Regions from separate parts of the Homo sapiens genome. Here regions 2 and 3 are each linked to region 1. Evidence: promoter capture Hi-C in 16 types of primary human blood cells and fetal thymus (Javierre and others, 2016). All regions are on one chromosome and are shown on one strand. Each heading gives the region's core, a stretch centred on a gene start or on the middle of the fragment in contact. The rest is flanking DNA. Distances are from core to core; before and after follow the strand shown.

Region 1 (4,423 bases), core at 1,723-4,222:
TCCAGAAGCACCAATGTTCCAGTATTTAATTTCCACTGTAGACACATAAGAGATGTCAATTACCTCAAGAACATAGATATCAGTAATGTCATAAAATAATTAAGAAACAATGAGCTTTGAGATTTTATTCCCTCTATTTAATATAATTTATTTAGTTGTGAAGTTTTTTTTAAAGGCAGGGTTTTGCTCTGTTGCCCAGGCTGGAGTGCAGCGGCTATTTACAGGTGTATTAGTCCACTCTCACACTGCTATAAAGATACTACCCAAGACTGGGTAATTTATAAAGGAAAAAGGTTTAATCGACTTGCAGTTCCACATGGCTAAGGAGGCCCCAGGAAACTTACAATCATGGTGGAAGGCAAAGGAGAAGCAAGGACCTTCTTCACATCACAGTAGGAGAGAGAAGAGCAGCCAAGAGCAGAAAATACTGCCTTATAAAACCATCCAATCTTGTGAGAACTCACTCACTGTCTTAAGACCGGCATGGAGGGGAAACTGCCCCCATGATCCAATCACCTCCCACCTTGTCCCTTTCTCAACACTTGGGGATTATGGGGATTACAATTCGAGATAAAATTTGGGTGGGGACACAGCGGCAAACCACACCAACAGGCATGATCATGATAGTCCGTTTTCACACTGCTATAAAGATACTACAGCCTCAAACTCTTGGGCTCAAGGGGTCCTCATGCTTCAGCCTCTCAAGTACCTGGGACTACAGGCATGTACCACCATGCCCAGCTTAACTGTAAGTTTATATAATTTAATTTAATTTTATATGTTTAATAATGGCCATGTTCATCAAGCACCTCACAAGATTCCTGAAAATCTATTTTTTATTTTTATTAAAAAAAATTGTTTGTAGACATGAGGTCTCACTCTATCGCCCAGACTATTTTCAAACTCTTGGCCTCAAAAATTCTCCCACCTAGGCCTCCACAAATGGTGGGGTTACAGGCGTGCCACTGTGCCCATCCAGATTCCTGAAAATTTAACAATTTTATGAGTTGGTACATGCTGACTCGAGCACACACCACTGGGAATAGTTGTGAGGAGGACAGTTGAGTGCTGGGGAAAGGAAGGAAGAAAACAGTGAGGATAAAGTTCACATATCTCACCAGCTTTTATTACCTGATCCCCATGGGGAGGCCCATCAGAGAGTGCCTATGACCTGTTACAATGGACTCTAAAAACACTTCCCTACTCTTTCAAGTCTCCCTGTGAGCATTGGTTACACTTCCAGTATCCCATTCTTATAGTTTAACTCATGAAAAAGGGCGGGATCCTCCTTCTGCCAATACTAGTTCCTTCTCCTCAATGAAAAGTTAGACACAAACTCCAAAATAAAGGCAACTCCCAGAATACAACACAGCCCCAATTAAATTAAAATGGCTTTTATCCAAAAGACAGGTAATAACAAATGCTGACAAGGATGTGGAGAAAAAGTACCCTTGTACACTGTTGTTGGGAATATAAGTTAGTACAACCACTGTGGAGAATGGTTTGAAGGTTCCTCAAAAAACTAAAAATAGAGCTACCATATGATCCACAATCTCACTGGTAGGTATACACCTAAAAGAAAAGAAATCAGTATATTGAAGAGATATCTGTACTCCCATGTTTATTACAGCACTATTCACAATAGCCAAGGTTGGAAGCGACCTAAGCGTCTATCACCGATGAGTGGATAAAGAAAATGTGGTACATATACACAATGAAGTACTATTCAGCTAAAAAAGAATTAGATCCTGTCATTCACAATGACATGGATGGAATTGAAGATCATTATGTTACGTGAAATAAGCCAGGCACAGACAGACAAACTTTGCACGTTCTCACTTGCTTGTGAGAGGTAAAAATTAAAACAATTGAACTTGTGGGCATAGAGAGTAGAAGGATGGTTACCAGAGGCTGAAGGGTAGTGGGGGTTGGGGAAGAAGTGGGGATGGTTAATGGGTACAAAAAAATAGAAAGAATGAATAAGAACTAGTATTTGATAATACAACAGTGTGACTATAGTCAATAATAATTTAATTGCACATTTAAAAATAAAAATATAATTGCACTGTTTGTAACACAAAGGATAAATATTTGAGGTGATGGATATCCCATTTACCCTGTGTGATTATTACATATTGCATGCCTCTATCAACATATCTCATATACCCCATACAAATATATGCATACCCCATACATATATATATACATACACACACACACACACACACACACACACACACACACACACACACATATATGTATATCTACTATGTACCCACAGACGTTAAAAATTAGAGGAGAAAACACACACACAACAAGGAGACTGAGCTGGAAGGATGGAGCTCTGGGATAGATTTGTCCTACATCCCTGCCTGGGAGGGAATCCACACACATGCAAGAAGACAAACTAGGAGCATGGGCTACTAAATTATACCACATTGCACTCATCGGGGTCACAGGGTTTCTTCCAAGTGACCCGCACATGCCCTTCCCATCTCTGTGTGACAGTGGCACCTGCACCAGACTGCATGTTGAGGTGTCATCTGAAATTATGAAATAAAACAGAAGTAAGAGGTCTATTAGCTCATCAAAATGCAGTTATCTAAGTTCAGCTGTGAACTGCCAAATTTGAGGAGTGATCCAATGAAACATCTTTTCTTTGCAATCCAAGAAGACTTACCGGAGAGAACTGCTCAGAGAATCTGCAACATCCGGTTCCTGGAGACAGCTAAGGAAAGAAGCTGGGGCGCATGTTTCTGCCCAAAGCCGGGTTTTGGCCGAGGTGACTACACACCCCCTTTCCTGGCTCCCATAGGCTAAGTGCCTGGCTTCTTGAGAAGCCTGCTTCTTGAGAACAAAAAAGTGATTTAAAGCCTCATGGGAGATGAGCAATCCTCAAGACACAAGCAGAAAAAGTCCCAGTGATACAGGAAGCGGGTTCAGGAACCTGCTGGTTCCTGATACATAAATCAGACAGCCTCTGCTGCATGACACGAAGCTTGCTTCTGCCTGGCATCTGTGAGCAGCTGCCAGGCTCCGGCCAGGATCCCTTCCTTCTCCTCATTGGCTGATGGATCCCAAGGGGCTCCTCTCCTTGACCTTCGTGCTGTTTCTCTCCCTGGCTTTTGGGGCAAGCTACGGAACAGGTGAGTGTTCATCTGCCTGATGGTTTGAGTCCCATGTTAGCTGCCAGGAATCAGCGTATCTTCGTGGATGGAGAGAAGGTGCAGGGCTGGGTATTGTGTTTGGTCACTCTTCCTTAGGGACTGGCTGTCAGTTTCAACTGCCTCTTTCAAAGAGGAAGGAACATTATAAGTTCCTGGGCCCTTGGGTTTCCAAGACTCAGCCCCACCAACCCCAGTTTCCAAGGAAATGAGGGGCTCTAAGCCAAAGGCTCCAGTCACTTTTCTGACCAGTCTTAGGGTGACAGGCCCTGGTAGAAGTCTTGCTTGAGTGGTTGGTTTTACATGGGCATCTTCTGGCAAAGACCCAGCCTAGAGAGACTGAGCTGGATGGACTGAGCTCTGGGAGAAGATTTGCCCTACATCCCTGCCCTGGGAGGGAATCTGTGCACATGCAGGCTGACAAACCAGGAGCATGGGTCAACAGAAAGCATTGGCTAGAGTGGGAAGAGAGAGTAGAAGTGAAAACTCCAGGCTTTTGGCTGAGAACCAGCAGTGGCCACAGTGCGGTCATACTGGTGTGTATTTTCTTGGAAGAGAAGGTCCAAGAAAGCAAGAGGGAAGAAGTTGGGATTTCTGAAGGCTAGGGCTGGTTACAGTATGTGGGAAATGCAAATTGGGAACCCTCAGAGAGTAGCTCCAGCAGGAAGGCCAGACAAGAGCTACCTTTGGATCTGGACTCTGTTCCTGTCTTTCTGTCTATCTTCTTCCCAAGGCAGGCTATTGCTTTCTGTTTAGAAGTATCAGGGCTATGAGAAAAGGTATTTGAGAAAGAAAAAGCCAAGCAAGAAGTGGACTTTGGACTGCCTGTGTGAGTGGGGTGAGAATCTCCTTCTGCTTATTTGTTTAGACTGTGGGAGGTAGCCTGGAGTAGAAGAGGTGGCATTACGGACACGGGGGGAAATCCTGAGGCCCAGGGTGTTTTAAGCTTGGGGTTTTCAAGACCGCAAATCCAATATGGACTTTTCCAGGAAAAGCACCGTGATATGCCAGGGATGTGGGGGTGCTGCACAATGGATGTGTCTTTTACCAGACAGCCAGACGAACAGGGCTTGCTCAGCCCACTTTCTTTTGGAATCTGCAGATCCATGGCTCGTACTTCCCAAGGTCTAGGGGAGGAAGAACTGAGCTCGGGGCTCAGAAAACCAAATCGAGCCACTTTAAGTGGTCACAGGGAAAGCCAAGCCTCCGTTGTTGCAACCAATTTGTGACTGCACCATTTCTGGAGCACCTCTTGGTGA
Region 2 (4,913 bases), core at 2-2,501, 260 kb before region 1:
ATCCCACTTGGCAAAGGATGAGAATCACCAGCCACCCCAGCATCCATGTCTGTCTTACTTTCTCAAAAGCTCCCCCAATTACTGCCAGATACATAAGAAACCAATTCTCTGCAATTGCAGGGGCTCCCATGGCAACAAGCTGGATAGTTGCCTGTTGATCCAATTTCTTTAGCTGCCCTCAGGTAATGTCAGATGCCTTCCGAGTCATCGCTATCATTGCTGGTCGATTCTCCAACGACAGGTCTTTCATCATCAGGAGGGGTTCAGTTGTCTCCTACCTGTTCTCGAGGAGAAAGCCCAATATTCCCCCTTTTTTGTTTGTTAAGATATACTTTAAGAGTTTGATGAGCTCGCTCAACATTGGCCTGACTGGTTGAGTTATAAGGAATGCCAGTCTTGTGTTGTATGTGCCACAGTTGTAAATGCATATGTAAATCGAGCACTAAGACAGCAATGTCTATTATCAGTTTTTGTAATTTGTGGAAGGCCTAAAGTCATAATAGATTTAAAAAGATGAGCAATTGCATCTTTAGTTTTTTCTGTAGTCTGAGGAGTAGCATATTTCAGGCCTGTATAAGTGTCTACAGTAACGTGGAGAAATTTGAAGCATCTAAAGGGTGGATGCTGAGTAATATCAGTTTGCCAGATAGCATTAGGCACCAGACCTCGTGGGTTGGCACCAAGTCCTAACGAAAAAGGGGAGAGCGAATGCCATTGGCAGTCAGGACAGGTTTTAATAATCATGCGAGCTTGAGTGAGCGCCAAATAAAACTGTTGTTTAAGACTGTGGTTGTTCTGATAAAAAAAGGAATGATCAGCTTGAGCTTGCAAAAATGTAGGAGATTCTGTAAACCACGGAGCTTAGTGTTAATATGTGACTTTAGACAACAATGTTTTTATATTTTAGGAAGCTTGAAGCTAACAATATATTAAGACAATGATCTCTTTATAATTTACAATAAATAAAGTGAAAGTTTGTATTTTATATTGTTTAAAACATAAGAAGATTTTATTTGAAAAGACTTTTAAAAAAATATGAAGGCTTTCTCTTAGGGTAAGAATTATGTAATTATGTTGCCCAAGTAATACAGTGATGGAAACAAGACAATATTTTATCTTTCTTTTCTTCAGTTGAATGCTAATAGACAATAGTTTTTTGCTTAGCTAGGAGCTTAAATACTGTTTGGGAGAAGTGGGATATTTATTAGTGGGTTGCAGGGAATAAATGAAATCACCTTAGTAGAGGATGCTGCTATACTTTTATCAATGTCCACTGACATTGGTTTGAAAGTGGAAATCTTTTGTGTAAAGGCCTGGGGATTTTTTGCCTATATCTTAAGTATATCTCTGGGCTGGCAGCCCCTTAATATACTCAGAAAAGTAAAATATAGGTTACAAGATACTTTAAAAATTTATTTTGACTAGTGAGTTTGTTTCTAGTTGATTCACCTAATTAGAGATGTTACAAATCATTTTATATGATTGAACACATGTGAGTGTTGTTTTCCTGGAGACTGGGTTTCATTACAAGCATTCTGATTTGGGCCCCATTGAAGTTTTTCTTTCTCTAGCCCTTCTAAACTAAGCTTTTTAGAACTCACTCACAAGTTGTATGAATTTTGACAGACTTTTATTTTATCTTCTGATTTATTCCGTGTGCAGTGGATTTGAATAGCAGAGTTTTTTTATAGCTCTGCTGATGTGATGTTGGTCACTACGTGCAGCTTGCAATCAGTTGATAAATTCAACGTATGTTTCTGTGGCACTCTGTTTAACTGTTATAAAGGAATGTTTCTGTGGCACTCTGTTTAACTGTTATAAAGGAACCCTGGGATTGTCCCGTGGGTATCCTCTTCTATGCCTGTATTGCTAGCTGCAAGCATTGTGGAAATAGATGGCTGTTTATTTGAGCTTGAGCCTGAGCTCAAGCAAAAGGACCTGGTCCCAATAGCATATCAAGCTGTGTTGGGATATTATTATCCAAATTTTGCAAGGGCTGCTGCATGGATAGATCACTGTACTCACTCCACCGCACAGTATATTCTGCAGCTGAAACCAAAACTTTTACTAAAGTTTTCCAATCATGCGGAGTCATCTTATAGCCATTTCCCAGAGCCTCAATCATCCCCTGGGTAAAGGGTGAATGTACACCATTTTCACAGATACTTTTCTTTATCTCTTTAAAAACAGTAAAAGGCAAACTCTCATGCCGTCTCCTATCATTTTGAACAATGACAGGGAATGCGCCAAAAAGTGCCTAAGAGTCTCCCTTTTTAAGTCCCTCCTGGAGGCACCCCTCTACTAGGGAAGTTTGATGAGGAGTCGTCACTGAGAACGCGTTCACCTGATCATATATGTCAGGCCTCTGAGCCCAAGCTAAGCCAACATATCCCCTGTGACCTGCACGTATACATCCAGATGGCCTGAAGCAACTGAAGATCCACAAAAGAAGTGAAAATAGGCTAAACTGATGGCATTCCACCATTGTGATTTGTTCCTGCCCCACCCTAACTGATATGATATATTCTCCCCTGCCCTTAGGAAGGTACTTTGTAATATTCTCCCCGCCCTTGGGAATGTACTTTGTATGCCTATCCCAAACCTATAAGAACTAATGATAATCCCACCACCTTTTGCTGACTCTCTTTTCAGACTCAGCCCGCCTGCACCCAGGTGATTAAAAAGCTTTATTGCTCACATAAGCCTGTTTGGTGGTCTCTTCACACGGACGTGCGTGACAATATAGATGTTCACTGACAGGGGGTCTTATCCAAGAACCGTCCATCCCTTGGGTGGCCTCCAATCTCCTCCAGGGGGATGGGAGGCACTGTAGCCTGAACAGGGCCAATAGATGTGGATTTTTTTAGGGGTGGAGGAAAGGAGGGCAATGGCTTTTCTATTGGGGGAGGAAAAAGCTCCGGTCTGTCCTCATCATCACTAGAAAGTGTCCTCCTTATGCCCTACGGAAGGGAATGAAGTAGGGAGAGGAGCCCCTCCCTGTTGTTCTGGTTCCTGTTTTTCTTTAAATCTCCTGAATTCCCTTCAGGTGGAGCTAATGGGCAGTCTGACTCACCGCAATCTGGCATATAAAGAGGGTACAATGCAGAGCGTACCAGGGCCCAGGTGGTCAAAATGATAACCTTAGTAAAATGGCCCTGCCTAAATCCTGTTTTCAGGCAGTGATCCACCTCCTCCCATAACTCTAAGTCTAATGTTCCTTGATCAGGGAACCAAGAGCATTCCTGCTGAATAAAAAGCATAAGCTGATGCAAATCTTCAGACTCTAAGGTGCAGTGGATAGCCTTAAGTAATTGTTGCACCATTTTAAAAAATACTTTCTGCTCTTTGGTCAATTCCTGACCCATGATAGCCCAATCCCTGGTATTATATGCGTTGGTCCCATCTTCCTGAAATGGGTTGGGACTGTCCCTTACTGGTATTCCCTGAAGTTTGATGAGTTTTCATACTCCACGTGTAATTTCAACGCAGTTATGTCAGGGTCACCACTTGCAGCTTGTAGCTACAGCGAACGCCAAGAATGAAGTACTCAGAGAATTCCAGCTGAGCAGGGCAGGGAGTAGCTCTTCTGAGAGAGTGCCACTCTAAGATCTGTCTGCCAAGTATTTATTAAGAGGGCAACAAGCCCTCTCTAAATTGTAGTTCTAATTGTAATTGTAATTGTAATCTAAATTGTAATTGTACAAGAATTACAATTTAGACAACCAAGAGACATCCACTAGGTAACAATTTGCAGTTGGGTCATGAGGCACATACGGCCTTGTTTATTACATCTAAAATCACTCAGACCACATTCTCAGGAGGCTGTTTTCAGCGCTCCTTATCACACAACTCCTTATCACACAGCTCCTTATCACACATTCTGTTCCTTGCTCTGTTTTCAGGGTCAAGGAATTTCAGTCTCATGCCCAAAAAACATGCACACAGTGCTTCAGTATTTTGCCATACCTCGACCTCAAATGCCTTGTATAGAAGCTTGAATATGTTGCCATGTATCCCCTACAAGGTGCAAAAGATTGGCAATGAACTCCTTCATCTAGACATTTTGCTACATTTGTTTTCTCTCTCTCTCTCACTATGGTTTGTTGAAGAACTTAGAAAAGAGTTGCAAGTGTAACACTTTTTTTTTTTTTTTTTAGACAGAGTCTCCCTCTGTCACCCAGGCTGGAGTGCATTGGTACCGTCTTGGCTCACTGCAACTTCTGCCTCCTGGGTTCAAGCAAGTCTTCTGCCTCAGTCTCCCAAATAGCTGGGATTACAGGAGCCTACCACCATGCCTGACTAATTTTTTTGTATTTTTAGTGGAGAGAGGGTTTCACCATATTGGCCAGGCTGATCCTGAACTCCCGACCTCAGGTGATCTGCCCACCTTGGCTTCCCAAACTGTTGGGATTACAGGCGTGAGCCACTTTGCCCAGCCTGTGACACTTTACCTTTAATTATTTCAACATTAATCTCCTACATAATACAAATATAATTCAAGAAATTTTACATTAATAAAATACTAGTACTTAAGAGTAGCTTATATTAAATTTCACTAATTATTCCAATAATGTTCTTTATAGCTTTTTGTTTGATCCAGAATCCAACCAGGGATTATGCACTGCATTTATTTGTCGTGTGTACCTAGGTTCCTTTAATCTAGACTAGTAACTGAGATTATTTTTGGTCTTTAATGATATTATCATTTTTGAAGAGTCTAGGGGGTCAACTATTTTGCAGAATGTTCCTCAACTTGGGTTTGTCTGGCTGCTTCCTTCAGGTTATTGGTTCCAGGCTAAACATCTCTGGCAGGAATATATGTTGTTGCTGTTATGTTCTTCTCAGAGCATCTAGGGGATAGACAATGTCGGCTTGTCCCAACCCTGGTATGGTAGGACCTTACCTAGCACATG
Region 3 (4,616 bases), core at 1,843-4,342, 270 kb after region 1:
GTTGAAGAGGGGAGAAGATAAGGTGGCCAGTTTGCAACATGTGGCGTTGGACATTCCTGGGAGATATCCTAGTAAAGAGGTACAACTTTTCAGCTACAAACCCAGAAAGCCAACTTCCTTCTGGGCAGCTCCACGGGAAGGCTCCTGGGGGGCTTTCATTCAGTTTGTCCTTATTACACCACCTTACTGCCACCATCTCCACCACAATTCTCCACAACGTTCCTCTTCCTACGTGTGCTACTTTGGAAAGTAGCACCACTGTACACCCAGGCTCCCAGGCCAGAAACCTGGGAGTTCTCCTCTAGCCTGCCACATTTAATGAATCACGACATCCTGTTGAATCTACCATTTAAATAGCTTCCTAAATCTGTCCTCCCTTCCCCATTCCTACTGCCGCTACCTAAATACAGACCCTCAGCTTCTTGCAGCTGACTTTGCGATAGCCTCCTAAAACTGTTCCCTGCACAGAGCTTACCTTTACGCAGCTATGATCAGAAATGTCCTAAAAGTGGCCAGGCGTGGTGGCTCTCACCTCTAATCCCAGCACTTTGGGAGGCCGAGGCAGGCAGATCATTTGAGGTCAGGAGATCGAGACCAGCCTGGCCCAACAGGGTGAAACCCCGTCTCTACTAAAGTACAAAAAATTAGTCGGGCGTGGTGGTGCCCGCCTGTGCTCCCAGCTACTTGAGAGGCTGAGGCAGGGGAATTGCTTGAACCCAGGAGACGGTGATTGCAGTGAGCCAAGATCACCCCACTGTACTTCAGCCTGGCGACAGAGCAAGACTCCATCTCAAAAAATAAATAAATAAAAAATTAGCCGGGTGTGTTGGTGCACACCTATAATCCCAGCTACTTAGGAGGCTGAGGCAGGAGAATGACTTGAACCCAGAGGCAGAGGTTACAGTGAACCGAGATTGCACCACTGCACTCCAGCCTGGGTGACAGAGCAAGACTCTCTCTTAAAAAAAAAAAAAAGAAAGAAAGAAAGAAAGAAAGAAAGAAATGTTCTGAAAGTGATATTTCTAAAGTGTACATCTGATGATAGTGTTTATCTACCCCACTAGAGAATGTTCATTGGTTTCCCATCACTGTGTGGCCAAGCACACACTCCCTATTATGCTTCTCCTGACCTGGCCCCTGCTTACCTCTCCAGACCATTCCGTCACTTTCCTGTCCCACCAGCCCCTTGCACTTAATGTCCCAACAATACCACACTGCTAATAGTGTGCTCTTGCTCACCAGAGCTTCTCAGGGTTCCATGCCTTCATACCTACAGTGCCTTTCCTTTGTAGGTGGGGTTCCCTGGGAAGTGGATTCCTGAACTCTGAGATCGTATACAGGAGAGTGCCAGCAGGAGAGTTCTTGAGAACACCTGTGAGGTGTGAGGGAAGCTGCAATAAGCCGAGAGAGAAACTGAAAAGCAATGCAATGGCAACAGAGGCTTCTGTCCATCCCATGGGGGCTCTCAAGCTGGGATAACTTTGTAACCCCACATCAACCAGTCATTGCCCTAGGGAAAGAGCAACACCTCAGGCAAGGCGGCTTTCTTCCTCCAAAGGCAATTCCTGGAGAGGGACTCAGCTGTGAGTCAACACTTCCACAGCTGGAGAAGTGAGTGGAGCACACCACAGAATTCACTGTACGTATCTCATGGTCTTCAAAACCCAGCTCAGAGTTTACCGGCTGCCTTCCTCACCAACACCCTCTCTCAGGTAATCACTCGCTTCCTTGCAGATGCCTCTCACTGTTGGGAAACTGATATGTTTACATGCCTGTCTCCCATACTCCCTCCCAAGTAGGTGGTGGGGAGGGCCTGATCCTGTATTTCAGAATCCAGAACAGTGCCCGGTATACATTGGCTATTCCATAAAGGCATGCTGCACTGAATAAATTGAAATCAACCAATGAAAGAGGTAGCTACAAGCTTATAAAAGAAGGAGGCTGGAGTTTAATGCTAGAAAGGATAAAAGGGACATAGACAGTAGAGATTCTCACTTGGGAACCACACTGGAGACCCTGCTTGGGAGGCCCAAGAGTCCCAGGTTAGAGCGAATCAAGGCTCTGAGCTTGGGATGTCCAAAGAGGGGCAGGAGCCAGAACAAAACCTGTAACCTATAAATAGCCATAGGTTATAGCTCATGGAGCTGGGAGACAAAGGTAAAACTTCAAGGGGAGAACGGGCTTCTAGGAAAGAGGAAATTCGACAGCTCCCTCTCCTTGCTCCATACCTGCCAGCTGTCACTCAGACTCCTATATTAAAAAGAGCACACACACAAAAAAGTACACAGATATACACGTGTTCAAAAACCACAGAATCAGGTAAGCACGCCCAGATACAGAACACACACATAACACAGACACACAATACATGAAACAGACACAGACCAGAAAAAAATCAATCTGAAAATTATAGGCCATAATATATGTAAATGAACCACCTATGAATTCTAAACTCTGTTTACCCCTAGTCAGCCTTCAAGCCTCCTTCACCTTCCAGAAATCTCTGACAAGTAGAGAATTCCAGATTGCAGAATTGCAATTCCTTCGTCCTTTGTCCCCAGTCAGGTCATTTCTTCTCTTTTTCAGGCTCTCAGCAGCTCCTAGCTAGGGATAGGGAAGAGGGAAAATGTTTCTGCTAGTAGCCAGCAGGGGACAGTGTTCAACAAGCAATAATCAAATCAGCCTTCAACTTGCTGAAGGGAGGGAATGGAGGACGAGGGAACCAGAAAAGGGTCCTCAGACCAACACATTGCTCTGATCACACCCTCGATCCATGTCTCCCTCTTTTTTTTCTGCTTCTTCAGCCCCCTTCTTCTCCTCAGCTGCAGTTTCTCCATCCTTAGTTTAGTAGATCTCATGGATTGTCTATTTGCTCAGAGAAGACTAAGCTCAGGAATTTCCCCCTCAGGGAGAGACATTCCCCTTAGCCTCTTGTCCCTTTCCATTCTGTCTTGGTTCCCAAGGTGGTCAGGACTTCGGAGTTTTCATCTGGACTCCTGACCAATGCTCAGGAACCCACATGAGGGGCTCAGTTCCAGGGCCACCTCTCAGGGGATGCTTGCATCCTGGTGCACAGCTGGTCTAGTAGAAGTGGGGTTGGGTGTCAGGCCCCTGCACTGCCCTTAGCCTGGTGCTTTGTAAAGTGCACAAACTGTATGACAGTACAGTTGACCCTGCTACTTACTGCCCCTGAGATAGCATCTGATGAGCGTTTCCGGTGTTGAACACTTTCACGATGATCTCATTTAATCCTCATCACACCCCGGTGGGTCTTGTTGTCTTTCCTGCTTTCCATATGAAAAAGCTGTTGCTCAGGGAGGGCATGCGGTTTGCTCACTGTGGCACAAAGGGGAAAGGTGGAGACAGAGCAGGGACACGGGACCTCTGGCTGCCGGGTGTGGGCTTTCTCCCCTCTAGCACAGTGTTGCTGCACTGCCACCACTGCCTCCCTTCTTCCACTCCCTCTCAGCCTTTCAGGCTCATCTCTGCTTGCTCCCTTCTCCTCCCTGCGCTGACATCCCAGCACTGTGAGCCTCTTTCTTCTGCCCATAATCCTCATCCAATGAGAGGTCAAAAGCTCAGGAAAGAACACAAGAAGAAAGCAGAAAGATAAAGGAACTGGGTGGTAGAAAGGGCTTTCCAGAAAGAGGAAGAAGCAAAGGCAAAGAAGACAGGGCCTGCACTGGGGGTGGAGAGGGAAGGGAGGTGGGTGGAATGAGGAAGCGGAGCACCCTCCACACTGTGCCCAGACTTGGGAAAGGGCACAGACAGGGCCTCCATTGTGTGGGCACAAAGAGGCCATATGCCTGGCAGCCTATGACAGTGTGTGTGTGTGCGCGTGTGTGTGTGTGTGTGTGTGAGAGAGAGAGAGAGAGAGAGAGAGAGAGAGATTTTAGGCAACCCCCACCCAGCCCCTGGGGCCTTGACTTCTGCTCTGTCACTGGTGATGGGTTTGCTGAGTTACAGGACAGGGCGTTGATGAAGACAGGACTGGAGGGTCAGGCACCTGTGGTCACTAGGACTGGAAGAGGGCATGGACAGCTGGGGGAGCTATGGCCATGCATGGGATACTTGGCAAGGGGAGTAAGGAAGCAGGGGTGAAGTGCAAGAGTCCCATTCTGGGGTCCTCCTAACTGCCCCTCCCCCACCCCACCACCCACGAGTTGGGTTTAGAGGGATGTGGAATGAGGGATGCAGAGCAGATCCTCTTCTAACAATCCCTTTTCCCCATCCTCCCTATCTGCTAGCCCCAAAGCTTTCACTTTCCCCTCAGCCCAGGGACTTCCATCTCCCTGCCCTCTCCCTCCTCCCCCAGTGCCTGGTCCCCTGCTCCCTCCTCTTCCCACTCTCCACCTCCTTCTCCTGTCCTTCCCAGAGTGAGAAGAGCAACAAGAGCGACAGCGGCAGCGAGGCCAATTGATTATCTGAAGAAATTCGGAGCTAGCAGTAGAACAGCTGCAGCTTCCCCCTCTCACCACCTCCAGGCCCTCAGGGATCCCTGAGGGGAGGGGCCCCCTAAGCCCTTCTGCTCTCCAGCCCAGGCAAAGAGACAAGAGAGGGAGGCAGGGAGCCCAGAGGACTGTGGCTGCTGAGCACAGAGAAGCACAAAGCTCTCA

Evidence for each region. Contacts are between HindIII fragments. The CHiCAGO score rates a contact against its expected background, and 5 or more counts as called.
Region 2: a fragment that was not itself captured here is called in contact with the fragment with the promoter of SLAMF1 in region 1 in 7 of 17 cell types (total B cells, total CD8 T cells, naive CD8 T cells and 4 more); the score reaches 8.0 in total B cells.
Region 3: a fragment that was not itself captured here is called in contact with the fragment with the promoter of SLAMF1 in region 1 in 3 of 17 cell types (activated CD4 T cells, fetal thymus and naive B cells); the score reaches 6.6 in activated CD4 T cells.

The regions. Positions count from the first base shown.
Region 1 is chr1:160,645,593-160,650,015 of GRCh38, reverse strand. SLAMF1 (signaling lymphocytic activation molecule family member 1) reads left to right here and starts at 2,972. Exons shown (of 7, transcript NM_003037.5): 1 at 2,972-3,146. The coding sequence starts at 3,071. It overlaps LOC107985220 (a long non-coding RNA gene), which reads right to left and starts at 3,007. Exons shown (of 2, transcript XR_001738266.2): 1 at 2,681-3,007; 2 at 1-2,543. RefSeq lists enhancers at 2,841-2,890, 2,931-3,140. The HindIII fragment of the contact is 11,196 bases long and covers 1-3,000 here.
Region 2 is chr1:160,903,938-160,908,850 of GRCh38, reverse strand. No RefSeq gene overlaps it. Among named protein-coding and RNA genes, the nearest start is that of ITLN1, 21 kb to the right of the region's middle. The HindIII fragment of the contact is 675 bases long and covers 914-1,588 here.
Region 3 is chr1:160,374,737-160,379,352 of GRCh38, reverse strand. It overlaps LOC105371466 (a long non-coding RNA gene), which reads left to right. Exons shown (of 4, transcript XR_007066686.1): 4 at 1,293-1,938. Among named protein-coding and RNA genes, the nearest start is that of NHLH1, 10 kb to the right of the region's middle. RefSeq lists an enhancer at 3,142-3,191. The HindIII fragment of the contact is 2,331 bases long and covers 1,927-4,257 here.